Regions from separate parts of the Homo sapiens genome. Here regions 1, 2, 3, 4, 5 and 7 are each linked to region 6. The links are contacts of gene promoters, found by promoter capture Hi-C in blood cells and fetal thymus (Javierre and others, 2016). All regions are on one chromosome and are shown on one strand. The core of a region is centred on a gene start or on the middle of the fragment in contact, and the rest is flanking DNA. Distances in the headings are between cores, read along the strand shown.

The links. The method cuts DNA at HindIII sites, captures the fragments that hold promoters and counts their contacts. A CHiCAGO score of 5 or more calls a contact.
Region 1: a fragment that was not itself captured here is called in contact with the fragment with the promoter of RGS2 in region 6 in 3 of 17 cell types (total CD8 T cells, non-activated CD4 T cells and monocytes); the score reaches 6.4 in total CD8 T cells.
Region 2: a contact is called between a fragment that was not itself captured here and the fragment with the promoter of RGS2 in region 6, in 1 of 17 cell types (total B cells). The highest score is 5.8, in total B cells.
Region 3: a fragment that was not itself captured here is called in contact with the fragment with the promoter of RGS2 in region 6 in 1 of 17 cell types (naive B cells); the score reaches 5.2 in naive B cells.
Region 4: a contact is called between a fragment that was not itself captured here and the fragment with the promoter of RGS2 in region 6, in 1 of 17 cell types (monocytes). The highest score is 5.9, in monocytes.
Region 5: a contact is called between a fragment that was not itself captured here and the fragment with the promoter of RGS2 in region 6, in 16 of 17 cell types (naive B cells, M1 macrophages, M2 macrophages and 13 more). The highest score is 17.5, in naive B cells.
Region 7: a fragment that was not itself captured here is called in contact with the fragment with the promoter of RGS2 in region 6 in 1 of 17 cell types (naive B cells); the score reaches 5.2 in naive B cells.

What each region holds. Positions count from the first base shown.
Region 1 is chr1:193,136,244-193,140,014 of GRCh38, forward strand. It overlaps CDC73 (cell division cycle 73), which reads left to right. Exons shown (of 17, transcript NM_024529.5): 6 at 1,842-1,930. It overlaps MIR1278 (microRNA 1278), which reads left to right and starts at 260; the gene lies at 260-340. The HindIII fragment of the contact is 281 bases long and covers 1,351-1,631 here.
Region 2 is chr1:192,493,346-192,497,526 of GRCh38, forward strand. No RefSeq gene overlaps it. Among named protein-coding and RNA genes, the nearest start is that of RGS1, 80 kb to the right of the region's middle. The HindIII fragment of the contact is 777 bases long and covers 863-1,639 here.
Region 3 is chr1:193,188,994-193,193,084 of GRCh38, forward strand. The region is part of intron 10 of CDC73 (cell division cycle 73); the gene reads left to right. Among named protein-coding and RNA genes, the nearest start is that of B3GALT2, 4.4 kb to the left of the region's middle. The HindIII fragment of the contact is 730 bases long and covers 1,442-2,171 here.
Region 4 is chr1:193,153,072-193,157,183 of GRCh38, forward strand. All of the region lies in intron 10 of CDC73 (cell division cycle 73), which reads left to right. Among named protein-coding and RNA genes, the nearest start is that of MIR1278, 19 kb to the left of the region's middle. The HindIII fragment of the contact is 1,169 bases long and covers 1,644-2,812 here.
Region 5 is chr1:192,475,768-192,479,678 of GRCh38, forward strand. No RefSeq gene overlaps it. Among named protein-coding and RNA genes, the nearest start is that of RGS1, 98 kb to the right of the region's middle. The HindIII fragment of the contact is 4,574 bases long and covers 117-3,911 here.
Region 6 is chr1:192,806,883-192,811,084 of GRCh38, forward strand. RGS2 (regulator of G protein signaling 2) reads left to right here and starts at 2,157. Exons shown (of 5, transcript NM_002923.4): 1 at 2,157-2,299; 2 at 3,284-3,385; 3 at 3,488-3,549; 4 at 4,099-4,202. The coding sequence starts at 2,190. RefSeq lists silencers at 608-697, 1,634-1,843, 3,351-3,410 and an enhancer at 2,174-2,393. The HindIII fragment of the contact is 4,593 bases long and covers 1-3,373 here.
Region 7 is chr1:192,458,482-192,462,205 of GRCh38, forward strand. No RefSeq gene overlaps it. Among named protein-coding and RNA genes, the nearest start is that of RGS1, 120 kb to the right of the region's middle. The HindIII fragment of the contact is 2,290 bases long and covers 1,217-3,506 here.

The sequences.
Region 1 (3,771 bases), core at 241-2,740, 330 kb after region 6:
TCAGAAAACAGATGGCGGGCCAGAATTGGTCTTTGGGATGTAGTTTGCCTACCTTTGGAACAATGTGTTATGGGTGCTTGCTTTACTGCTCAGAGCTGTGAACATGAAGTACTTACTACTTTAATGTAATCTTAATTAAGGATATTCTGAGAAATGGATCTGATATTTTTAAGAGATAATGATGATAATTGATTCATTGTTATTGCTCTATGCTATGTGTTATTCTAAGTACTTTATATGTATTAACTCATGTAATCGTATTTGCTCATAGATGATATGCATAGTACTCCCAGAACTCATTAAGTTGGTAGTACTGTGCATATCATCTATGAGCGAATAGGCTCAGACAGAGTGAGTTCCTGAGGTTTGAAGAACCAGTTGGAACCTTGGCAGTCTGGTTTCTAGCCATTCTGCTATACTGGGTATAAATTTTGTGGCAGTAAAACTGAATATTTCCCCTTATATGAAAGGAGATTGTGACCTGTGGTAAACAATGTGTATGAATTTAGGGATACCATTTATTTGATCTCAAATTCCTGGCCTCAAGCATTCTGCCCACCTCGGCCTCCCGAAGTGCTGGGATTACTGCCATGAGCCACTGCGCCCAGCTCAAGGGATGCCATTTATTTGAAACAATCTGAACATCACAGTCTAATTATTTGAAAAAATTCAACATGGCAGAAGTCCTAGTTTCCTGGGATTCCAGTAACTTAAAAAATCAGCAGGAAATGGCATAATACATTTTTTTCCAAATCATTTGTGGGGTTGAAATGTGTTACATAAACAGCTATGGTTTTCAACATTGGTTTTCAGTTCAGTGTATGTCTTTTGAGGATCTATAAGGAACTGTGCTAGGAAAGAGAAACTGAGGGTAGAGTTTCTGATTTGATAAAAATCTAGGCTGCAGTTATCTTTAAAATCAGTAGTAAGGAATTTGAGAAATCTGGGCTATATCTTTATTGCAAATGGAAAAAGTTGGATGCATTTGCCAAAATATTTTTGCATTTATTTCAGCTGATTTATTCATTTTAAGATTTTTACATGATAGATTAATAATAGGACATGAATTGGAGCCCAACATCTTTTTGGATCTCTAGAGTATGCTGATGCTTTTTATACAGTTTTGTATTTCATTAGTCATAGTCATTGACTCTGGTCCTCAGTTTTGTTATTTGTTGAATGTGGACATTAAACTGGATCAGGGTTACCAGATTTTGTTTTGTTTTTAACCAACAGCTTTTCAGACTAAATTTTACTTGACATCATAATATGTGAATTAGATAAAAGCTGAGCTACCAGGGTTGAATTTCAGACAAAATCTTGAAGTGGCCCATGAGGCGTTTAGTTGGAAGCTTCTAACGTTCTAATGACCATCCTTTGAAAACCTTTAAGGTTTTCCTTAGAGCATTTTGATTAGTGCTAATGGATTCAGGACCTGTAGCAACAGATGAAAAAAAAATGGAGATACCAAAATGAAATTGTTGACTCTGGTGAAGGCTTGTCATAACATTTGGTTATTAACTTTCTCAAAAAGATGAATTTATTTGTTGTGTCTTTCTGAAGAAAGTCAGCTATGATATGGGAAGAGCACTTAATCATAAAGAAAAAAGTAGCTAAGCAAGTTTTTCCTAAGCTTTTCGATGATTCCAGTCTTAAGATTCAACATATATTTATTGTTATTATCTTTACGTAGCCAAAAGTAGTCTTGAAGTTGGCCTAAAGACACTGATACCTAGAATTGTAGAGGTAGGAAATTTGGTAAGGAAAAGTTACATGTAGCGTTTTTTCTTCCTAAAAGTTCAATAAAAATTTTAAATGCATTAACCAGTGGTTATTTCCAGGATGAAGAGTGTGTGCGCCTTGATAAAGAGAGATTGGCTGCCCGTTTGGAGGGTCACAAAGAAGGGATTGTACAGACTGAACAGATTAGGTAAGAATTCTTTTTAAGTAGAAAGTAGGTAGTTTAGATATATGTAAAAGTATAAGGAAAAGGAATATTAAAATGCTCTCCACATTTACATTTACCTCTTGGATTCATTTTATGCCTCTTTGCTCTTAAGTTCGTAAGAACATGTGTGGGGATTGGAAGTCATTGTGTTTATCATGCTTTTTGAAAAGTCTTCTTGTTTCTATTACCATGTTGGTCTTTCTTTTTAAAAATTGCGTTATAAGCTGAGAAATTCATTTTATGTTACCTCTTATTGATTACTTACACCAGAAGTCAGCAAGCTTTTTCTGGAAAGTGCCACATGTTAAATATTTTTAGCTTTGAAGGTAATATGGTCTCTTGAAACTACTGAACTTTTGTGGTGTGGGGAAAGCAGCCATAGACAATACATGAATGGATGGGCATAGTTTCTTCACTTTTTAAAAATGTTTTCATTTTTCTGGATTCCAGCTACTCAAACTCTACTTGAAGTTGTTTGACAGCTCACTTACATTCTTTTCTTTTTTTTGGATTCTTTTCTATCTGTCTGTTTATATTCTTTTTTGAATTATTTTTGGATAGTTTCTGTTGTACTGAACTTTAATTTTTTTTTTTTTTTTTGGAGACGGAGTTTCACTTTTTCACCCAGGCTAGAGTGCAGTGGTGCGATCTTGGCTCACTGCAACCTCTGTCTTCTGGTTTCAAGCGATTCTCCTGCCTCAGCTTCCCGAGTAGCTGGGATTACAGGCGCCTGCCACCACGCCGGGCTAATTTTTATACTTTTAGTAGAGATGATGTTTTCACCATGTTGGCCAGGCTGGTCTCAAACTCCTGAACTCGTGATCTGTCCGCCTTGGCCTCCCAAAGTGCTGGGATTACAGGCGTGAGCCACCGCGCCTGGCTGAACTTTAGTATTTTTTTCTTTGACAGTTCACTTACATTCTTCTCTTTTTTTGAATTAACTTTATATCTGTTAAATTCTTTCTTGAGTCCTTTTTGGATAGTTTCTGTTGTGTTTTCAACTTTACTTAATTTTTTTTATGTAATTCCATGCATGTTTAGTCTCCAGCATTGTAGTTTTCATCTGAAGTTTGTTTTGCTCTTTTTTTTTTTGAGACGGAGTTTCGCTCTTGTGACCCAGGCTGGAGTGCAGTGGCGTGATCTCGGCTCACTGCAACCTCTGCCTCCCGGGTTCAAGTGATTCTCCTGCCTCAGCCTCCCGAGTAGCTGGGATTACAGGTGCATGCCACCACGCCCAGCTAATTTTTGCATGTTTTGCTCTTTTTTAAAAAACATACCTACTTCATCTTTTCATTTAGCTTGTTGAAATATAGAACGTAGTTCTTGTAATTATTTTCATGCCTTGAGATTGATTGATATTTCTCCTCGTTCTGCTTTATTACATGTCTGCTTTATTACATTTTCCTGCTTTATTACATATCATGTGATCTTTGCACACCAAACATCATATATACTTTTTACCTTGTTGAGGGCTAGATATTGTTATATCTCCCCACATCATCTTTAGCTTTTTTTTGGGACACAGTTAAATCCCTTGGAAACAGTTTGTTACTTTTGGGTCTTGATTTTAATTTATCTGAACATTGGTCAGCTAGGGTAATTATTCCCCACCCACTGAGGGAAGACCATTCTGAGTACCTAATACTTCATGAACGTGAGGTTTCATTCTGGCTAGTGGAACAGGCACTATTCTTCACTTTGTGTGAACACTAGGCATTATTCTGTCTAATTCACTTGGGTGGTTCTTTATTCAACCTTACATAGTTTCTTCATATTTGTGCTAGTCAGAATTCTGCTGGGGTACGTGAGGGGGATCTTCTGTG
Region 2 (4,181 bases), core at 1-2,500, 310 kb before region 6:
TAACATCACTAAAAGTGAAACTCAATAATATGCCCCCTACATGCCCCTGATGCAATGAAAGATGCTATGTATAGCACCACCTATAAAGTATTTTTTCCAAAGTTGAATCTGAATCTAATCAAGTCTATCAATTGTCAACTTACAGGAAATATGGGTGATAGAGATACAACCACCATACCTAGAGGTAGAAAAATAATAAACTAGTATCTTCAACAAATATATGACATTATTTTAAAAAGCCATTTAGAGACATATTAACTAAATACAATATGTGGTCTGTGTTTGGATCTTGATTCAAAAAACTGTAAAAAGACATGTTTTTAGATAAAAGAAGAAAATAGAACATTGGGCCACTTATTGGATGATGTGACATTATTTGTAAAATGTTGTTATTCGTGATGAAATACTGCTAAGCTAAGCCTTTTTTATAATTATCTATTAAAGATGTATATTGTAATATTTATATGTGAAATTATGCAATATCTGTTATGTGGTTTATAATAATCTAGAGAAAACTCATATATAAGATAGGGTATAGACAAATAAGAATGGGAAAATGTTGATAATTGTTGAGCTGGGTGATGGGTAGATAGGAATTCATTATATTGTCAACTTTAGTACACATTTAAAATGTTCCAAAATAAGTTTCTAATAATTATTTACATCTTTAATGTTACTCTACATATAATACCAAATCAAAAGATTGAGTTAAGAGTTTATGAGGTAATTAAGTTTAAGAAATATTAGAATTTTAGGAAAATCTCTTCAGGGCATTAGCCTATGCAAAGAATTTATGACAAAGACCCCAAAAACAAATGCAAGAAAAACAAAAATAGATACATGGGACTTAACTAAACTAAAAAGCTTCTGGATAGCAAAAGAAATAACCAACAAAATAAATAGACTACCTATAGAGCGGGGGAAAATATTTGCAAATTATGTCCCTGGCAAAGGACTAATATCCAGAATTCACAAGGAACTGAAATAACTCAAGAAAAAAGGAAACCACCCCATTAAAAACTGGGCAAGGGACATGAACAGACATTTCGCAAAAGAAAAAATACAAATGGCCAACAAACTCATGAAAAAATGCTCAATATCACTAATCACCCGAGAAATGCAAATTAAAAACACATTAAAATATCATCTTACATCAGTCAGAATGGCTTCTATTAAAAAGTCAAAAAACAAAAGATGGTGTAGATGCGGGGATAAGGGAATGCTTATATACTGTTGGTGGGAATATAAATTAGTTCAACCTCTATAGAAAATAGTATGGAGGCCAGGCTCGGTGGCTCATGCCTATAATCCCAGCACTTTGGGGGGCTGAGGTGGGTGGATCACTTGAAATCAGGCATTTGAGACGAGCCTGGCCAATGTGGTGAAACCCCATCTCTACTAATATTTTAAAAAATAGCCAGGCATGGTGGTGCATGCCTGTAATCCCAGCTACTAGGGAACCTGAAGCAGGAGAATCACTGGAACCTGGGGGCCAGAGGTTGCAGCGAGCCAAGATCCCACCAGGTCTCAAACTCCTGGTCTCAAGTGATCCTCCCATCTTGGCCTCCCAAAGTTTGGGATTACAGGCATCGACCACCACACCCAGTCTTGTAGCTTAAATAAAAATATAAAAAGTGAAAGCTTAAAGGAAAAAATATATATGTGCTAAGCAAAGGGTGAGCACATGAAATTCGGTGTGGCTATATTAATATCAGATAAGAAATGCAAGCAAGGAAGGAGATAGATATTAAAAGAGATATTTGGTAATGATAAAAGGGACTATGCATCATGAAGATTTAACAATCATAAATGCATATGGATCTAATGACAGAATTCAAAATACGTGAAACAAAAATCATGGAAATAGAGGTAATAATAGACCAACAACTATAGTTGGGGATTATAAAATCTTTTTGTGCATAAAAGAACAAGTAGAGTTTTAAAACTAAGTATCAACATAGACAGTCTAAACCATACTCTCAACTAACTTGATTTAACTGACATTTATAAAACACTTTCTTTTCAAGTGCACATGGAACTTTCATCAAGAGAGACCATGTGAAATACTATAAAATACATTTCAGGAAATCCTAAAAACTTAAGACTTATAGAATGTTTTTTTGAGCACAATGGAATTAAACTATAAATCAGTAACAGTAAGTCTAAAAAAGCCTCCAAATATTTAAAAATGAAACAACAATCCTATAACAGAGATTATAAATAAATCATGCAGAAATTAGAAAATATTTTAGACCTGATAATAAAAAATATAATATGTTGAAATTTATGGGATTCAGCTAAAAACGTACTTAGGAGAAATGTTTAGCTTTAAATGGATATCAGAATTTTTTAAAAATTTTAAATCAATTATTTAACCTTTCATCTAAATAAGCTAGGAAAAAAGACCCTATTAAAACCAAAGTAGAAGAAAGGAAATAATAAAAATTAAATCAGACCAATTAAATAGAAAACTAACAATAATTAGAGTCAAAAAGTGGTTCTTTGAAAACATTGATAAAATTGATTGATCTCTCTCAAGATTGACCATGAAAAAGACAGAAAATACAAGTTTTCAATAGCAGTAAAAAAAGGAGGAAATAGACATATATTGGCAGTAAACAGTATTATTTCTGTGTAGAGATCTTTCATATTTTGTGTTAGATTTATTGGTAGATATTTGATTTTTTCCATGCTATTATAGATAGTAGTACTGTTTATAATAAAATGTAATAAAATACTGTTTATAATAAAATAAAAAATCAAATATCTATTAATAAATCTAACAAGAATAGAAAAGATCTCTATACTGAAAATAATACCTAGCTGAGAAAAAATAAAGACCTAAATAAATAGATATTTTATATATGTAACATAGAAAATGTCTTATTGTTAATACATTTTTTCTACCCTAATTAACCTGTTCAACACAATCCCAATCAAAATCTCTGTATGCTTTTTAGAAGAAATTATGAAAGTGATTATAAAATTTATATGAAGTGCAAAGGATCTAGACTAGTCTGATTGATCTTAAAACACAAGAATAAAGTTGGGGACTTATACTACTCCATTTCAAAACTTAATAAAAAGGTACTGTGATCATGACAGTTTAATATTGGCATAAGAACAAAGTTTAATATTGGCATAAGAACAAATAGTTCTTAATACAAAGGTACTGTGATCATGACAGATTAATATGGGCATAAGAACAAATAGTCCTCCAGCTACTGGACAAATATTTGAAAAATATTAAACTTTGATTTCTATCACAATCACATTCAGTACAAATGTTTGTATATTAAGATGAATCATAGACCTATTCATAAGGGCTGGAACTATCAAGCTTTTATGAAAAATGAAAAAAAATATTTTTGTAACCTTAAGTTTGTGAGTTAAAATGTATCTCTGAAAAGGACATGTTCAAGTCCTAACCCCAAATATTTATAAATATTACCTTAGACGGAAATAGAGTCTTTTCAGATATAATTAGTTAAGTTAAAATGAGGTCATACTAGAGTATGGCAGGCCCTAATCCAATATGATTGGGATCCTTATAAGATGAAGAGAACGGACACAGACACACACAGGGGAGAATGTCTTATGAAGACAGAGGCAGAAATTACAATGGAATGCCAATGATTCCCAATAACCACTAACGTTACAAGAAGCACATGAAATGGATTCTCCCTCAGAACTTCCAAAATAAACTAACCCTGAAAACTCCTGGATTTCAGACTTGTAGCCTGCAGAACTATAAGAGAATAGTTTTGTTTTGGTAAGCCAGCCAGTTCACAGTGCTTTGTTACAGCACCTCTATAAAACTAATATACTTTGGCAAAAATTTCTTAAACAGGATATGAAAAGCACCAAAGAAAAAATATATGTATTTCATAAATATACACTTCATAAAAGTTTTTGTTCATCAAAAGTTACCATGTAGAAAATAAATAGGCAAGGCAAAAACAGCAACACATATGACTAGCAAAAGATGTATACCCAGAATACACAAAGAACTCCTCTAAATCTAAAACTTTTTTAAATGAGCAAATACTTGACCAGACATTGTATATTAAGATGAATCACAGACCTAATCATAAAAGCTTAAACTATCAAGCTTTTGCAAAAAATAATGGAAAAATGTATTCATACAAAAATGAATCTTCTTCATAAAGGAGGTATTAGTA
Region 3 (4,091 bases), core at 557-3,056, 380 kb after region 6:
CCCAGGCTGGGGTACAGTGGCACGATCTTGTCTCACTGCAACCTCTGCTTCCCAGGTTCAAGAGATTCTCGTGCTTCAGCCTGCCGAGTACCTGGGATTACAGGCGTGTGCCACCACACCCGGCTAATTGTTGTATTTTTACTAGAAGTGAGGTTTTACTATGTTGCCCAGGCCAGTCTCAAACTCCTGACCTCAGGTGATCCACCTGCCTTGGCCTCCCAAAGTGCTAGGATTACAGACGTGAGCCACAGTGCCCAGCCAACCTGTTTGTTAAATTTAAGTTAAGCTAGTTAAGAACTTTACGTAAAGTTCAGGAAAACAGGGCAGATGTGAGATAAAAGTTCCTTTAGTAACTTTTTGTAGCAACCTACATGTTTCCAGTCAAGAGAAACTGTAAAAATCTTATGACAGGAGAGCTTGTAGAAGTTCTTCCTTTAGTCTAGTTTCTTTTAACATCTGAATTCTATGGTTAAACTAATTCAGTAAATGTGACAGGTTTCTTTTTCAGATTCAGCAAACTGGCAGCTATTTTGTTAAGTTTTATAGTTATAAATGGCTTGTAATTGTCACTTGCATAAGTCTATTTTTAATCCTACAACACATCCGTGATGGCAAAATAGGTGGCCGTTACTATGTGCATCATGGCCAGAGCTGTCCAGGCCGGTTTTAGCATTTTCCTGGGCATGTCTAGTATAGACTTCAAGGAGTCAGAATTTAAAGACAGGAATTGTAATGCCTCCTAATTGTCAGTTTTTACTGGGTATAGGAATAATTATTTTTGTATTCATGTAGTTAATGGTTTTGAATGATTATTACATGTTGAATCAGATGTAAATCTGCTGTTCAAGTGGCTACTAAATAGTAACTCATGGAGTTACATCATCTGTTTATCTATGTATGTACATTCAACAATATGTCCTTGGTAAAAAGATTAAAAGAGAAAGGTAGGGGGAGAGCACTTCAACCAGGGTGGATGATTTTCATCTAATGGGAATGAGCAAAATCCTTGAGTAACATTAGAAGGGAGACATGAATCTGGTCTTCTTATATTGGTCTCCTTTCCTGTTTGTGCTTTATTATGAGTGGTTGGTCCCTGAATTCAAGGAATTAATTTCAGCTAGGACTTACCAGAAATACCAGCTATTTTTTCCCATGTTGGACAAAAATCTTAATGTTTTAGATCAGGTATAATTTCCACCATACCACTCTGAAAACTGTCACTTGACACAATTATTTAGAGACCAATTTTAGTTTTATTGAGATGACTAGACAATTTTGCATGATGTTTGCTTGGAGTTTATTTCTCTTGACTGTTTTTATTTATAATCAGATGCAGTCTTTTTCATTACATAAGGGATTTGGACAAATGGCTTGTTTTTGGTTATTTAATATTAGTATAGGTAGTTTCCCCTTTTTGAAGAGAAGTCAAATGTTTATTAAAAGCTTGTAATTTTCCTCTAAAGTCAGTGGATGATTTATGAACCAGCTTTACTTTCCTTGAACTCACAAAGCAAGAATTAGCCTGATTGCAAATAAGCAATCTCAGAATGACCACAAGTGTCAGTGTTTGCCTGCCTTATTTTTCTCCTTCAGTTTTCTTGTGCAGCAGATAGGCATGTTGTTTAAGAATTTCTTTTGACTTGAAAACAAAGCTAAATTTAAGTGTCTCTTTCAGAACTAATTATAGACACCTTTATCTGTTTTAATTCATGCAAACTATTAACAATGAGCATTTACAATCAGCAGTGATTTGGCAAATACTTTATTATGCTTGTGTATTCCTTGGTTTTTCTGAGGCACAGCTGTTTCAGTCAGGAATAATACTCTTAGAGCTGTGGTTCTCAAGGGGGCAGTGGTAGGGGTAGTACTGATTTCTACGAGGTGTTCTAGAAGTTTGTGAGGATGTTTCTAGTTAACAGAATGATTTTTAAGGGCATTTTAGGGCCAGGGTAGGTAGTAGTCCAGTAGTGTGTGGGACAGTCTTTGTAAACAGCAAAGACTAGCTCTGTGTTCTGCAGGACTTCTGAGTGTTTCATTGGCTATCTGTGTAGGTGAAACACTTTTTTATAATTAAGTAAATTTAAAACATTGTTGGAACATAAAGTATATTTTGTTCAGTTTTAACGTGCACTGAATTATCTAGAAATGTAACTACAGTGTACAGTGAGGGAAGCTTGTACTTTGCTTTGTTCTAAACTTGGCCAATGGTTCACCATATCAAAAAATGAAATTGTGTTCATGGCATTTGAGTCACCAATATACCAGTCTATGGGCATTTGTAATTGTTACATTCACTATGACTTTATGTATAGGTATTAGCATCTGGTTAGTATATCTTCTGGTATAATCATGTCTGAGACTTACATACTGAAATGCATATTTTTATCATAAATCTCTCTTTTTGTTTGTTTTTTGAGACAGTCTCGCTCTGTTGCCCAGGCTGGAGTGCAGTGGCGTGATCTTGGCTCACTGCAACTTCCACCTCCCAGTTTCAAGTGATTCTCCTTCGTCAGCCACCCGAGTAGCTGGGATTACAGGCGTGTGCCACCACACTTGGCTAATTTTTGTATTTTTAGTAGAGTCGCGGTTTCGTCATGTTGCAGGCTGGTCTCAAACTCCTAACCTCAAGTGATCTGCCCACCTCGTCCTCCCAAAGTGCGGGGGATTATAGGCCTGAGCCACCACACCTGGCCTCTATCATTAATGTCTTTAAAAATTTTATTTGTATTAGTGTATTAATTTTTAAAATATATATGTAGATTGGTTGTATTACCTGTGCATTTCATTTCAGGTAGTTAAGAGGGGTCATTGTAAAGTATTTCTTATATAAATACTTGTTCCATGTAAAGTAAATATAAAGGGCATGTGTTGAATTTGATAGAACTGTGACATCCACTGGGTCAGCACCTTTGAATAAATTATTTCAGGCAGCTTACTCTCCATTCTCTGCAAACCCAGCATATTCTTGATATTTAAAATTATTAACACTATTAATTTATTTAAAGTATAACAAACAATTTGTAAATTCAAGTATATGTAAAATATCGAAACTTAAAATTCTACTAAAACTTTGCAAAGAGGCATAGTTACCCTAATATAAATTATTAGTATCAGAAAGTATTTATTTTAATGGCTGTAGTAGATACGAATAGAAAGCAAGTGTTGGGAGCCAAGCATGGTAGCTCATGCCTGTAATTCCAGCACTTTGGGAGGCCGAGATGAGCGAATCACCTGAGATTGTGAGTTCAAGACCAGCCTGGCTGACATGGCAAAACCCCATCTCTACTAAAAATACAAAAATCAGCCAGACGTGGTGGTACATGCCTGTAATCCCAGCTACCTGGGAGGCTGAGGCACGAGAATCACTTGGACCTGGGAGGCGGAAATTGCAGTGAGCCGAGATCGCGCCACTGCACTCCAGCCTGGGCGACAGAGTGAGACACTGTCTCATAAAAGACAAAACAAGAAAGCAAGTGTTGGAAGTAAGTAAATAGAATTTTTTTTTCCTAAAGGGCTTTTTTGAAGAAAGAAGGGAACATTGAACATGCTTGATTCATGTAGCCATCTTCAGTATGATTGGTTATGGCCCGATTAGAAATAGGGACTTCAGTGTAAAGGAACTTTGCGAAGTGCCGGGGTCTGACCTACAGAACCAGGCTGCACGATGGATGAATAACGTACTCAGACACTGATATTCAGTGAAAGAGCAGGGGGCCACTCACAGAAGGAGTTGTGGCAGCCACGTGCCAACTAACTGGCCTTGCCGGCATTTATTCAGCACAGATTTAATGACAAAGGCATTGAGTCAACACGTGTGTGGTTAATTAATCTGGTCACCCTCCGCTGGAGAGAGCAGTCCTATGAATGATCAAAAGCCAGTCTTAGGACCACATGTGTAAACAAGCTCTTTAGATAAACTCCCTTACATTCCTTTTTACCTACTCTGAGCTGTTAACTCAAGGTAAGAGAATTAGGCTGCTTTCAGCCATAACCCTATCCAGAGGCTTTTGCAAAACCTTCCGGCCTTCCAAGAAGGTTTGCTTTTTTCCTGTAATTTTATAATTTCTCCCACCACCCTGACCAAGCCCCTA
Region 4 (4,112 bases), core at 978-3,477, 350 kb after region 6:
TTTTAACAATGTAATGTCTTTCGCTCTTTAAAGAGATGGATTATAGTGATTATAATGCTTACAAAGTATGTAATTAACAGAACTAAATACTTGGGTATCTGTGAATATAAGCCTTTGGTTCATGTTTAGCAAACTTTCTTTTTTTAACCTAAAAATGGTTATTTCTATATATTCTGACCAAGCCATATTTAACATTTTAAATTTTTATTTAATGATCGGACTTGGTGATGTAGAACAGGAATTCTGTTAACCTCATTTTGCATATTTATATTCTAGACCATTCTACCTTTTATACTTTTATTTATATTCTAGATTATTATACTTTTAAAATACTATGCATGTGTATTAAATAGAGTATACTTAAGACACTAATACCAAACTTTTGTCTTTGCTTGTGAATCATCAGATCTTTACGGACTCTATATAACATGGAATCATTATATATGTGCTGTGGTTTCTCAGAATTAACATATAACTTTATATCTACGTGGGCTTTTACGTGTTTTACTCACTCATTTCCAAAAGCAAATAGCAAGTATAGAGATCTGATTTTAAGTTTGTTTTTTTCTGGACTTCAAATTGGGATTGGATATCAGATATTTTGTTAATATACTTGTTTTTAAATTGTCATCAGATTTGTTTTTGTATTATTAAATTATGTGTAGATTAATGAATTCATTCAACAAGTACTTATTGAGCATTTGTGTCAGATCCTGTTCTTGTTGCTGGTCATACAGCTGTGAATAAGACAGATGAGCCTTGTTTAGAGAGAGAAGTCAGAGATACTTCTCTCAGGAGGTAACAGTTGAGCAGAGAGACTTGGATAGCATTCCTCTACGTCAAGGCAGGGATCAAGACTGAGGTCCAGTAGAGCAACAGCAAGGAGGCCAGTGTTGCTAGAGTTTGGAGAACTAAGGGAAAAGTCATCAGGGATTAGATACTCCCATCTTATGCGATCTGCCTGGTTCTTCCTGACTTCAATATATAATTCATGGCTGAAGATTTAGTTTAAATTCTTATGTGATTTGGTTATTGACATCTTGGGAACAGAACTTGCCTACTAATCATTTCCCTAAGTGCGACAGAACTTGCCCGCTGATCATTCCCTGAGTGAATTAGTCGTAGAATGAAGTTGTTACCCTTGGGGAGCCATCAAAGTAAGTTTTTTGTTATTTTTGTGATTGTTGTTTTTACTTTTCTCATCCATCCCTGTACCTCTGAAATGCCATGAAATGGTTTTATTATCTGAGCTTCTTTGCAAGTAGTAAAATCTGTGATGGGTTTTACAGTGATGCTTTGTACAGAGCAGTTTTTCTAAAATTTAAGGATAGCTTCTTTATTGATCAGTATGAGAATGATGTGATTCTGCGGCATCATCAGAGACTGTTCTAAATATACTGAAAGAGGTGAATTTAAGCAATATACTGAAGTATACTGAAAAGAGAGGTGAACTTAAGCAAATTTATGCTGTGTGATTTTTAAAGAATAGTCATGAAAAAGGCATTGTGTAGGAATGCAACAGAAAGACTAAAAATGGTTAAATTGCTGATAGTTATATTAATACCCAGTTTGAATCTCTGTGTTGCTTGTGATCTGATTTATGCAGTTGTTAGAATTAATACATAGAGAAATTTGAACTTGAAAGCTTTGAAGTTCTCAGATAATTATTTTTTAGTTGTGTCTCAGACTTACGTTTTCAATTTAATATTTTTTTCTCTTCTTTTCTGCTTTGGAATTACTACCTATTTGTGAGCTTGTGAGTTGCACCAACTTTCTACCTTATTCTCCAGTCAAGAAAGTTTCTCCTTTATAATATCCACCCAGACATACAGTGATGTTAAATGTATGTTAAAAGGCTTTGCTGCCCAGATGTAACTTCCTTCCTAATTTATGTATAGTTCATTTTTGCAGCCATTGTTCTCCAAGGTTTTGATATGCCTGGTTGATGTACATAGTTAATAAAATTAGGATCAGTCTATGTATCTTTTAAGTTAAACATCAGATTTCTGTTATATGCAAGACTAAATTATGCAGACGGCTAGAATATTTTTATACAGATAATTTCCTATATATATATGTTGTAGAGAAGGATATGTTTTGATAATCACATTTCATAAGAATCATGGGTTAGTGAAAGTTTTTATAGAAGTAAAGGCCCCAGGGAGAGTGCTTTGATAATATTTTATGAAAGTAAGAATTATTCAAACTTATAGCAACAGAAACCCAGGTATCTTTAAAGTTACAAGTTTGTATAGTTGGGTTTCTGGTTAACTTTTGACTTAGGCCATGAAATACGTTTCACAGTAAAGATTCCAGAGGCCCAAGCCATGAAATTGTTGATTTGATAGATAACTTTTCCAAGTTTGGAGCTTTTCCCCCAAATTTGTTGCTTGGGTTCTATAATGTTTAAGAAACACTAGGTTAGGCCAGGCGCAGTGGCTCATGCCTGTAATCCCAGCACTTTGAGAGGCCAAGGTGGGCAGATCACTTGAAGCCAGGAGTTCAAGACCAGCTCGGTTAACATGGCAAAACCCCATCTACTAAAAATACAAAAATTAGCCAGGATGTGATGACGTGTGCATGTAATCCCAGCTACTCCCGAGGCTGAGGCAGGAGAATTGTTTGAACCCAGGAGGAGGAGGCTGCAGTGAGCCAGGATTATGCCACTGCACTCCAGTCTGGGTGACAGAGTGAGACTCTGTCTCAAAAACAAACAAAAAACCCCACTAGATTAAACAGATTTTGTGGTTCAGGAATCTCATTGTTTTTAATGTATGAGTATCTAAATTGGAAGAATATTCAGTCTTTCTCAAGCTTATTTAACCCCCTGAGTTTGCCCCTACCCTAACACCTAGGGAATATTCTTTGAAAGGACTAGTGTTTCATAGAATCAGGTTAAGTAAAGCTATCTCAGAATTATGTGTTAGAAGTAGAAACCATTCAGTGGGGGAAATAACAATATATTTTCATGGTTTCATTTTGTGATAGGGTCATATTAGACAAAGAATGTCACTTGATAAAGTTTATTGTATAGTAAATAAGAGGATATAATGAAGGTCTGTTTTTGTTAGTTTGCAAGGAACCAATTTATGGTTCCACTGGAGAAATAATCAGATGGTGATCACAGTTCACTCTTATTAGTGAGGATTTGGTAGTTGCCTTGAGAACAACTTCATTTTAACCTGTCTAGCCTGTTCATATTTAACTGGAAGGGTTACAGACTCTAACCTCTATTTGTTCTTAGTGAGTATCATTGACTCTTGATTACCTTTACTGTCTTCATTTTTGCGGAAGCATCTCACACCCTGCAATTATAGAGATTAAAAGCTTTCCTTTAAGATCTTTGCTTGAATTTATTCCAACAGTCATCATAGTTCTTACACTAAGTGTGTTTTGGGGAACGATTTTTTTTGACAGTAAGTAAACTTAGGTAGCTTTATATAATTTGTTAGAGGTGTGATAATATCACCATCAATTCTCAGGAGGATCCAGAATCTCAGTCTGTCAACCAGGTTAGATTCTTAAAAGCAGGAACACATACATAGCACTCTCCCCACCCCACCACTGTTTTATAAAGCTTCCTTCATTCCCATTTGGTTATTGATTAATTTGTTGTTCATCTCTGCTTGAAGTGTTACGGGAGTGCTATAGTAGCAGTAATGTTCTGGAGTTGAGTGTAGAGTTCAGCTCTGCAGATAATGGAGACTCTCTTAAAAGCTGTTTTCCTTGGGGTTCTATTTCCTTTTCTTCCTCTTTCCTTTAGCAAATATTTGTTGAGTGCATGCTGTGTGCCTGGCAGTGTGCTGAGTGCTGGGACATCAAAGATGAACAAAACCAGACGTGTTCATACGGACTTTATGATCTGATTGGGGAGGGACACATTAGTCACACTATAAAATTGTGACTATGACAAGTGTTAAAGGTACGTTGTGCAACAAGAGCCTAAAATTGGGGGATTTGTTGCAGGAGTCAGAATACTTCATTTAGGAGGTAATTCTTGAATAAGATCAGAAGTTTATGTAGGATTTAACTTGGTGATGATGACAGGAAAACACATTTTAGGAGCAGTGAACAAAAAGCAGTAGTAAAAGCCCTGTGATGGGGAGAGAGTG
Region 5 (3,911 bases), core at 1,154-3,653, 330 kb before region 6:
TGTTCTTTCTTTCTTCCGTCTATTAAACCTTCGCTCCTAAAATCCTCATGTGTGTCTATGTCCCAAATTTTCTTGGTGTGAGACAATGAACTGCTGGTATTTACCCCAGATAACGAAGCTTCAGTTTCAAGATGGAAAATGTTGTGAACAATTGCATCTCAGAAAAGGCAAGAACCAGGGCACCTCTGGGAATCTCTGCAGGCATCGTGGCATTTCCTTAAAGCATATGACTGCCCCAAGGACTGCCATCTAAATTTTTCTATCTGACTACCTTCAGTTCTGAGGCTTCCTCTGTCAAGGTTCTCATTCCCAAGGTAAGAAGTCAGACGGCCTGATGAGGATCCGGTATCCTTCTGAAGTGGAAGGACAGTGTCTGGTGAGCAGGTGTCATGGAGGGCCAGTGGCATGTGCCTGTTGGGAGGGGTGCTATGTGAGTCAAGCTGCACAGACAAGAATAGCATCTACTGTTTTGGCATCTTTCCTTACCACTACATGATGTTTCTCTGCTCTGAGGAGATCACACACCTTGATTTCTCCAAGTATGCTGGCTACAGTCACATTCCAGTGCCAGCAATGCCATTAGCTCCCTTTTTCAGGCCAAATCACATGTATTAGAGAATATATTTATTATTCCCGCAAGAATATGAGATGCAGGAGGGCTGTACATTGATTCTGCATATTTTTATCCCAAGCCTAGGAGGACAGCTCACTCAGGAGACAACTGGAGAGCAGCACCTTCAATTCACTTTTCTTGGAATCTAGGTTGTATCCTGATAAGAAGCATGTGAAAAAAAAAAATGTGTGTGTGCGTGTTGGTTGGGGTTGAGGGAGAGATGTTCAACACTAACATAGAATTAATGAATTAATGATAACATAGTGTCATATTGAGATAGTGAGATGTGCTGCACTTTGGAATAAGAGAGACATAGGTTCCTATCCTGTTTATTTAGCAGATTATTTAACTTGCCGGTGCATCTATTTCTTCCTCTATGAAATGGAGAAACAATCCTATGAATCTCTATGAGGACTAAATTGGATAACGCGTTATGCTGGGTGTGGTTGACTGGCTCCCAGCAGCCAACCCCACCCGTTTCCATGTTCCTTTTTTGTACATAGGAGCTGAGGAGATAAACGCTACATTTAGCAGACTCCTTGGCAGCAAGGGCTCTGGGTGTGAATTGTGTCTGCCAACCAGAGGGAGAAGTTGGACGCGAACGCTTGGCTGTTCCTGCTGGCTAGCAACGTGGTAGGAACAGGTTTCTGTGCAACGGAGTTTGCATGCGTATTTCAGACTTTTCAGTGTTTTGAGATTTGTGACATCACTGCAGTAATGACCTCAGAGCGGGCACTCCTAATGAGTCAGTTGCACATTGTTTTGGCAGTCATCCCACAATATCCACTCAAAAACCGACTTCTCTGGCCCTCCCACTGATTGTCAGGATCTCACTTGCAGTATTAACCCACTTCTGTTTTCAGTCTCTAGAGTGGTTTGTTTCCTATTCTGAGCAATGACTAATATAGACATACAAAGTGCTTAACAGAGCACCTTTCTGTGGCACTAAAAAATGCTTGATAAATATAGCTATTAATATTATTATTATTATCTGGTATTTGACCTTAATCAAGTTGCTTAACCGCACTAAGCCTGAATTTTCTTATCTATAAAACAGGGACTTCTTAAGGAACTGCTGTACAGATAAAATAACATAATGTATGAAAAGAGCTTAGCACAGAGAGTAGGTGCCCAGTAAATTTTGTGTATAATTATATATTCCTTTTATTCATTTTCATTTTTTCAACATATAAATTATTTTATTAGTCGTTTAGCTTAATCCACACATAGTATAACACTATAACAGCATCAAACTGTTGTATGCCAATGTCTATGTTATTGACATGTAGTAGATTTCTAAATGATTTAGAAATGTGTTATACAAGAAGCCAGGTTAAACTTAAATAATGAGAGTTTCTGCAAAACTAATCGACTGACTCTTACCTCTGGTAATTTTTCCTTAGACTTTATTCTGCAATCACTAGAGGGCAGACAAATACAGTGAATAATCAGTACCAGCTAAAGCAGTAAATTCTTAATGAGCTTTCTGAATATGGGTAGAAACCGTTATTTTTCAAACATGAAAATAGAAGAACAAAGATACTTACTATGTAAGGACACAAATATCAGTTAAAAGTTTATAAGTTTATTTTAACTTCATTGTTATATAAAATTAGTAAGCACAATTTTCTACCTCATACTTATGTAAATTTTAAAGTAAAATCATTCAACAACACATACATTAATTTTTAAAATTAACAAGATAATTAAATGATATATATTCATTAGAACAGAGAGAGAAGGTAGCATAGTAAGAGGATCATGAATCTGGGAATACAAAGACCCAAACTCCAAATGGGTCATTTTACCTATTAGTTGTTGTAGGCACAGTGCTTTGGGCCGACAAACTTTCAAGATGCTAGAAAAATGTTTGAAACTTGTAAAATAATTGATTCCAGACTTTGAAATGAAGACTTTTTATTTACACACACACACATGCACATATATGGACACAACCTAACGAGCAATATTCCCAAAACAGTAAGAACATGTTGGAATCTTGATTGAATGGTAATAAATGATTTTCATAGAACTGCCCTCTTTACAATATTGGGTCTTACAACCTATGAATGTAGTACGTCCTTCTGTTTCTTTGTTTATTTGAGTCTTATTTTAATTCTTTTAAATGATATTTTACACTTTTCTATGCAGAGTTCTTGAACATATTTAGAGTTAGGTGTGTAAATATTTTTATACTATTTTAAATAATATCCTAATTTTAATTTCTAACTCTGTTACTGTTACATATAAATACAATTTCTGTACATGGCTGAAGTTATCTAACTTGCTAAATTCTTTTATTAATTGATATTAACTATGTGTAGAATCTCTTGAATTTTCCATATATATGATCCTCTGTTCTGCAAATAATATCAATTTTCTTACTTTGCTATATTTTTATTTTTATTTCTTCTTCCTACTGCATTGCTACATATCCTCCAGTATATGAAGAATTAAATTAATGACAGTAGTCTCCTAGCCTTTTTATTGAAACAGATGGAGAACTTATTTATAATTATACATAATATTTGTTAAAGGTTTTATCAATTTTATTAATATTTTAAATTTAGCAACTTTGATGATGCCTTTGTTTATGTGTTTGTTCTACTCCTTTTTTTCTGCCATGTTGTTTTTGTTTCTATTATAGCCTTTGGATTGAATTTGCTCTTTTTTTTCCTACATTCAACACCATGAAATGGAGGTTTAGTTGATTGATTTTTAGACTTTCCTGTAAAATATAGACATATAGGATTTTCAATTTAAATTTCTCTTTGAACTCATCTTTAATACAGTCCCACAAATTCTACATGTTGTACTTTTATTATGTATTTCATGATATTCCTAATTTTCATTGTGATTTCTTCTCTCATAGTTTTTATATAAACACATTTTTTAATTTTCAAGTATACAGGCTGTTTCCAGTTTGGTTTTCTTTTTTGTGGTCTGGTTTACTTTATTTTTACTGTGGTCAGAGAACACACTGTTATTTTAAATGCACTGAAATTTATAGATGGTTTATGTGTGATAGAGGGATATGAATTTTGCAGTTTCAAAGTTTGTATTACCATTAGGGGAAGCTGCTTTGAAATCTTCCCATATCACTGTGTATTTAATTATTTCTCAATCTAGTTCTGCTCATTTTTATACATATATATGTCATATAGTTTGTCCATTCCAAATTAGAATTTATATTGCCACTTGCTAAACTAAACTTCTTGTAATTATGAAGTAGTCTACTTAATCTCTAGTGATATGTATTGCCTTATAGTCTATTTTGTCTGATATTAATGTGTTTATA
Region 6 (4,202 bases), core at 907-3,406:
TTTCCTACGTATTATCCAGTGAGCATTTATTAAATATCTATAATGAGCTTAATCTTCTACAAATTTGTGTATCTTGTGTATTTGTGTACCTACAAATTGAAACATCTTGATATTTAATAGTACCTACATATTTATAACCTAATTACGTCTGAGTTAATCCTCGTACGATTTTTTCCATCTTGAACAGCTATGATTTGAACATTTCCTTTTGCCACACATATGCAAATCAGTAATAAACTTCCGTACAGTACTTTAGAGCTTAGAAAAGACCTTTCATGTAAGAGTCACATAATATCCTATGAGGCTGGCAAGAAAATACATGTTACTCTTATTACAGATGAGAAACTGGGACTCAAAGAGGTGTGAAGCTAGTGTCCCAACAGTTACTTAGCATTTACTGGATAAGCCCAGGCTCTAACTGGGTCTCCTGACAGAAGTCCAGCTCTCTCTCTCTGCTGCCTCTTTGTCAGAACTCCTGGCCTGCCAGCGAATTTAACTGTCTATGAGTAAATTCTAACATCTAAGGTTCTAAGTATAAAATATATTGAGGTTTACAGTGGTGAGAAAAAGCAAGTGTCTGCGTATTACAGACAGCTGATAAATACGTATTGAGTCATCAGAAAGTGAAAATAGATGTAGGACTATTATGCAAAGCATAGGAGAGGAAGAGCATATGCTTAAGAAAAAATGGCATTCCTAGAGTTAACAAGCATGTTTCAAAGTATCTATTACTGAAATCTACACGATTTTCCTTTCCACAATAAAGTCCACAACTGTTGTCTTAAATAATAACTGCAGGTTTTGCCCTCCAAGTCAAACTTGGAGCTCCAACTACTGGCAGCTCACCGTAAGAATATATTAATTATTTCCAATTTCCTTTTAAGAAGTCGAATACAAAGTAGAGAGAATATCTGCAGCTTGGTTGCAAAGCCGCTTAAACATTTCACTGGCTAGTTCTGGTAATATTATCCGAAATCAACTCATTTTGTGGTTGAGGTAATCTATTTGTCTTTACCAATCAAGTCGTTTTAAAACCTTCAGGAGTAGAGATGATACTTGAAGAATTAACAAATAAAACTTAATCAAGGAAACTGTTAACTCATTCTCCCCCCTACTTTTTGCCAGTTATTAAATGTTCTGGTAAATCCTAACTCAACAAGAATGACTCATGAGGAAATCCTGACTCCTTGAACTCACTGATTCTGGTGCATTACAGCTATGAAATCTCTATGTCTGCAGCTTTCTCTCCCACCATAAGGAAATCTGTGATTTCTATTTTGGCAGGAGATGTGACCAAGGACTCCTGAGGAATGACCCTATAGACAGACCCAGCCACGTGCCTAGTAGTGATCAAAAATGCAAACCCAATTAAAGCACTGTCTTCTGATAAAGTCACTTTCTCTTGTTCAATCCCTAATGTTCATTCTCAAAGTGTTCCAAGACGCCCCAGCAAGCTGCAGAGCAGATCCCACCCTGCCCCTGGGCAATCAACGTTTCAGGTTACTCCTTCCTTAAGTTAAGTGGCAGAGAGAAACGGGCGAGGGTCTCCCCATTGCCTCAGTTCACAGACCAGGGGGTGTCGAATGAGTCCTACAGCAGGACAGCAAACAAGAAATGAGGCGCGGGGTCAGGGAACGCGCTCAAAAAAGGAAGAAAAATCCCACTCTTCATTCGAAATCAGGCCACTGCACTCCGGCCTCGTGGCGGGCGACCTCCTCCTGCCAGGGAATCGCCGCTCTGGCCTCGGGCTGGGGAGCCCGTCAGGGTGGGTGAGGGAGCGCCGGCGCCCCCGCCGGGCCGCCGCCAACTTCGGCTCCCTCCCTCCGTCGCAAAGCCCTCGAGCCCGCCCGGCCGCCACGCTTCAGCAAAAGGTCGTGCGCAGCGGCCCACACTGAAGACTCTCCATCTGCTCCCACACCTGCCCCAGCTGGCCGCTGCTATGTGGCCCGAGTGCGCAAGAAGCCGGGGCCGCAGACGTCAGCAGCGCCCCGGCTTCGAGACCCTTCGGCAGCAGCCGTGACTGCCGCCGGCGGGCGCTGACCCATCCCCGTGCCAGTCTGCAGCCGACCAATCCGCGTCCTCTTGAGGCGGGGCCGGAGCCGCGAGGCCCCGCCCCCAAGCCGAGGCCTCATAAATGCTGCGACGCACGCCCAGCCGCAAACAGCCGGGGCTCCAGCGGGAGAACGATAATGCAAAGTGCTATGTTCTTGGCTGTTCAACACGACTGCAGACCCATGGACAAGAGCGCAGGCAGTGGCCACAAGAGCGAGGAGAAGCGAGAAAAGATGAAACGGACCCTGTGAGTATGGCTTTCTTCCCTCTCCCGCCACCCCCTGCCCCACACTGCAAGCTGCAAACGCGGTACTTTCGGGCTCGCCTTTGACGTTAGGAAACTAGCCTGAGCCTATGCAGGGAAAAAAAATCGAAAAGGTCAATTTGTTAAGTAAGGTTAAATCTGGGTGATGCTCGGGTACAGTTTAAGAACCGAGGGAGACAGTTGATATGAGGGCGGTGGTTGATGCGCTAAGAAATTGCGGGTTGGCTTTTTGTCCTCCTGCATTCAAAATGACATCAGAATCCTGCGGCTGAAGCGCGTCCCCAGCATTCATACGTTGCATGATGAGTTCTCATCAGCTTACACAGCTACTGGAAGGTGATGCTCTTGCTGGTTCTGAATATACTCGTTTAAAATCCATTTTTGTTTTTTAATTATAGAGCAGATCTCACCCAGTCCGAATGTGGAACAAATAATTGTTATGCAGCGTCTGCTTAAAAGAAGTGTCGTAGGTGGGGAAGGAAGAGCGCAGGGGAATCAGTCACCCACCTCTTTGTACAGTCTCTGGCGTGGTCCAGAACCTCCTGCTCTAAAGAGAGAAGCGTGGGCCGGCTCCAGACAGTTCCATGTCTGTCCTTTTCATTAAAGTGCAAAACGTCTCGGAATTGTAATTAACCTTGCAAACAAACTGATGCCCTTTGTGAGCCAGAAATAGTGTCTGCCTTTTGAACTAAATTCATTAACAATTCTTTAAAATACCCTAGTGATTATAGGTAGCCCTGCCCTTAGTTGTAAAACTAGTAGATACGGTCAGATTAATGGACGAAACTGCTCAGTACATGAGGTTTAAATGTTAGGTGGATAAGACTTATTTGAAGAGTTCTTGCTTTGCCTTATGCGGTTTGTCTCTAGTTACTGGGTGACTTTATTTGGTAAAAATGCGTTCAGCTGCAGTAGCATATTCAAGTGTTGCTAGTTAGTAATTATCTTTTTAATTTTTTGTTTTAGTTTAAAAGATTGGAAGACCCGTTTGAGCTACTTCTTACAAAATTCCTCTACTCCTGGGAAGCCCAAAACCGGCAAAAAAAGCAAACAGCAAGCTTTCATCAAGTAAGTTGAGAATCCTGTGCTTGCAAATATCAATAGTTAGCTGCTGAACTGAAAAGGGGAACTCTGATGTGCGTAAGCTAACATACAGAACCTCTCTTGCAGGCCTTCTCCTGAGGAAGCACAGCTGTGGTCAGAAGCATTTGACGAGCTGCTAGCCAGCAAATGTAAGTTAACTCTTGAGCTTGAGCCATTGCTAACATCGCAAAAGCCTGGAAAGGCTGCGTCCACCTAACAAAAGAGCAGCTTGCCTGAGGGGGATTAGACTGCAGTCACTATAGGATAAAGCCTGTTTTTCTTTCCTTTATTTCCCAGGGTTTAACAAATAAATGCATATATTCTCTCCAGGTGGGGAAGAAAATCAGCCTAAACAAATTAAAGTGGCAGTTGCTTATAGTTAAGGTTGAGTCAGTTTTTCCATTGCATACAATGTTTTCAAGAGGCTTAGTTCCCAGAGAATTTATGGCTCCCCTATAAATATTTACTTTGCATTGACAGCAAAGTACTTATATTTTTGCAGCAGAGTGCCAACATAAGCCTTTTGCCTACTGGTATCTTAGTCTTTAAAAAGCTAAATTTTGAGAATTACAGGTTTGAGCGAAATCTAGAAAATTCATTTAGAAATAATTAAAATGTGAGGGATAGGAGAAACATAAGGAATCATTTGGTCTCTCAGTTCTTCACATTCTGCATGCTCTCTTTTCTCCCCCCTTCAGATGGTCTTGCTGCATTCAGGGCTTTTTTAAAGTCGGAATTCTGTGAAGAAAATATTGAATTCTGGCTGGCCTGTGAAGACTTCAAAAAAACCAAATCACCCCAA
Region 7 (3,724 bases), core at 1,112-3,611, 350 kb before region 6:
CAGAGAGTATCATCTACTTTCTGCTGCTCCATAATTTATATTCTTCAAGGAAGAGGATTAGCAGGGAAGACATAATATTCAACTATTTCTGTCACTAGTAGACATTTTCAATTACCAAAATAAGTTTGCTCAGTAAACTATTTATTTGATTGCGATTAAGAACACAAAAATTAATTTGTGTTGGATTAACTTTCAAGGAGTTCGAAAAAAGAACTGAACACTAAAATCCAATGGTATCTGTTTATGGGGAATCATCCTTTGAACACTTCAGCTTAGCAGTTCTCAAAATGTGATCTGCAGACCCCTGGGAGTCCCCCAAGACAATTTCAGGGGGTCAGCAAACTCAGAGCCATTTTAACAATAAGATTATTTGTTGTTTTCACTGTGTTGAGATTTACACTGAATGTGCAAAACAATGATGAGTCCAACAGCTGACATTTTAAGATGAATCAATGCAGTGGTACCAACTGTATAGTGGTTTGATATTAATCTCTTTATTATTTTCCTCACTGCCAATACATCCACTTTCACTTAAGAATGTCCTTGGCCGGGCGTGGTGGCTCATACCTGTAATCCCAGCACTTTGGGAGGCCAAGGCAGGCAGATCACCTGAGGTCAGGAGTTCGAGACCAGCCTGGCCAATATGGCGAAACCTTGTCTCTGCTAAAAATACAAAAAAATTAGCCAGGCGTGGTGGCAGGCACCTGCAATCCCAGCTACTCGGGAGGCTGAGGTAGGCAAATCGCTTGAACCCGCGAGGTGGAGGTTGCAGTGAACCGAGATCTCACCATTGCACTCCAGCCTGGGCAACAAGAGCGAAACTCTGCCAAAAAATAAAAATAAAACAATAAATTTTAAAAAAAGTCCTTGGTGAAACAGCAAAAAGTATTAGTGTTATTAAATCTGGACCCTTGAGTACTTATCTTTTCAACATTCTGTGTGATAAAATGGAAAGTACACATAAAGCCCTGCTGTTGCATACTGAAGTATGATTGTTGTGAGAAAAAAAAAAATTGTGCAATTAGGTTATGAGCTGAACTAGCTGCTATTTTGTGAAACAATTTTTACTGAAAAGAAAAACTTGTAGATAAATGTGGTTATTCAGACTTGGATATTTGGCAGACATTTCCTCAAAAATGAACAAAATGAGCCTGTCACTTAAGGAAAACAACTGACAGTATTTATTGCCAATAGCACAATTTAAGCTTCAAGTGAAAGCTTCCATTAGCTTGACAGCTTTCCAACACTTAAAGAGTTGCCTGATGAATTTTGGTAGTGATATTAATGAATGAAATTTTTGATATTGTGTAATGAAGTTCATCAACATTTGGAAGACCTGTATAACTCAGCATAACAATATTCTCTAAGTGTTCAATGCATCATATTACAGAATCAACATTCACATCACACAATAGACCAGTGGATTTTAATGTCATGAGAAGTTTATTGAGATAGTTTTAGATTCTACATTACAATTAACCTTGAAGAAACTACTATAGCCAGGTTTGGATGTAGTTCCAAAGAAGACTATTCACAGCTATCTTTAAAAGCTATTAAAATATTCCTCCATTTTAAACTACATACATGTATGCAAGACTGGAGTTTCTTCATTTACTTCAAACAGAGCAACATATCAAAAAAGATTGGATGTAGAAGCAGTTACAATAATCCAGCAGTCCTCTATTAGACCCAATATTAAGGAGATTTGCAAAAATGTAAAACACTGCTTTTCTTCTCACTAAACTTTTATTTGAAAAATATAGTCACTTCATTAAAATATATTATTTAAGCTAGTGTGTAATGGGATTATTATTGGTTTTTAAATAAATTAATATAAATTTTTTAAACATTAATTTCTATTATTGTAAATATAAATACATAAATTGTTTTGATGTCTTTAGTAGAGTTTCAGAGCATAAAGGGGTTCCTAAAACCAAAAGTTTTGATAATTTCTGATTTTGTTGAGCAAAATTTACCTTTAACCATGATTTCTATTATATCCATAAATAAATTTATTTAATTTTAAATGTTATAGTACCACTAATTTACAATTTATGCCAGTCAAAAAAAATCTGGCCCTCACGTTTTATTGCAAAAGAGTTGAAACACATCTCATTGTAATAAAATTAAAAATCTATGGACCCCTCTCTTTTTCCGCCATTTTGTCAAAACTGCAAAACAAGTCTTGCGGAAGTAGGCCTAAGGGACTTTTGCACCGATATTGTACTGGCAACCCACCACGTACACCAATTTTTATTGTCATGGCCCAAACTGAAAAACAGGTTTTTTGACTTTTTTCCTCCTCAGAGAGAGTTTTTTTCTTTTGTTTTCTGGAAGCACAGCTTAGGAGCCTGAGATGATAATTTTTGCACGTATTTTTCTCCTTCCTTTGGGAACCTTAACCATATAGAGACCTTAACACAAACCCTGATGCTCCCTTCATATTTATCCAGAATAGCCCAAGCAAAGCCTGAAAATAGGGTATCAACAATAAAAATCAGAAATTTGATTCACAGATCAACACTTATATAACTGGCCGAGGTGTTGGCAATAATTCTCAATTCACATAACACATATTTGTTTAATAAAAAAGAGACGATGTTTGTTAGAAATACTTTAAAAGGTACCTAATCAGATATTTTTACCAAAACAGATGTTTCAGATGACAGAATATAGAAGTATAAATCCGAGGTGGGATGGGTGGGTATAAAGAGGAGTTCTGAGAGTGAAGTAAAATCTAAGCTGTTACAGTCTAAGAAGTGGACAAGAGGACTTCCTAGCCCATGATTCATATGTCTGCCTCCTGGGTACAGGTAAGTCTTATTGAGATCAAATAGAATATTCAAGAAGAATGGCTTGAGCCCTTGCTGTGCATCCTATAGCAATTGTACCACTGTCCTCCAATAAATTCCTGCACATTCTCAAGGGTGGGGTTGAGGGGTTAGGGCTGGAGTGGGGCTGATTTTCTGTCAGTTCACTTCACAGCTTGGTTTCCTGCTGCTGTCCAGCTCACCCAACCACAGTTCCCATTTGGCCCACCATGTCCCTTCATACTGGATTTCATCTTTCTGTGACAGAGGCACATTGTCACCTTTCAAATTCACATTCTTAACTTATCTTTCAAAATAATAGAGTCCTAATTTTGACCTTCACAAATTGCAGTCAGCTGAAAGTCTATGTTTTCCAATTTTCTTTATCTCTACGTACTGGCCAGTAAGATGTGTGTAAAGTTCTGCATAAATGAAAGTGTTCTGTGGAACTTCCAGAAAGCCTCATTAGGAAAGAAAAAATATGTTCTTCATCCATTTCTCTGTACTATCCCCTGAAATACAGATGAGAAGTTCTGTGGGAGTGACTACATGGGGAGCCACAAGGATGACAGCTTCGCCCTCAGGGTGGCAGAGTGGAGATCTAGAAGGAGCATGGGTTCCTGATGACTGACCATGGAGTCACCATACCTGCTATGGACTGCTTTTCCCTGGAATTCTTTATGTGAGAAACAAATAAGCTTCCCATCATATTTAAGCCACGTTCTTTCAAGCTTTCTGCCATACAGAGCTGCATCTGGTCATAACCAAAACGACATCTTTTTTTTAATTCCACAAATTATAAGAAACACAAGCCTATTTTAAATTTAAAAAAAATGTTCAGTGGAAACTTGATGGCAACAGATGGGGAAGTATTGAATAGGAAGGAAATACTGCAAATTCAATAGAGGTCATCG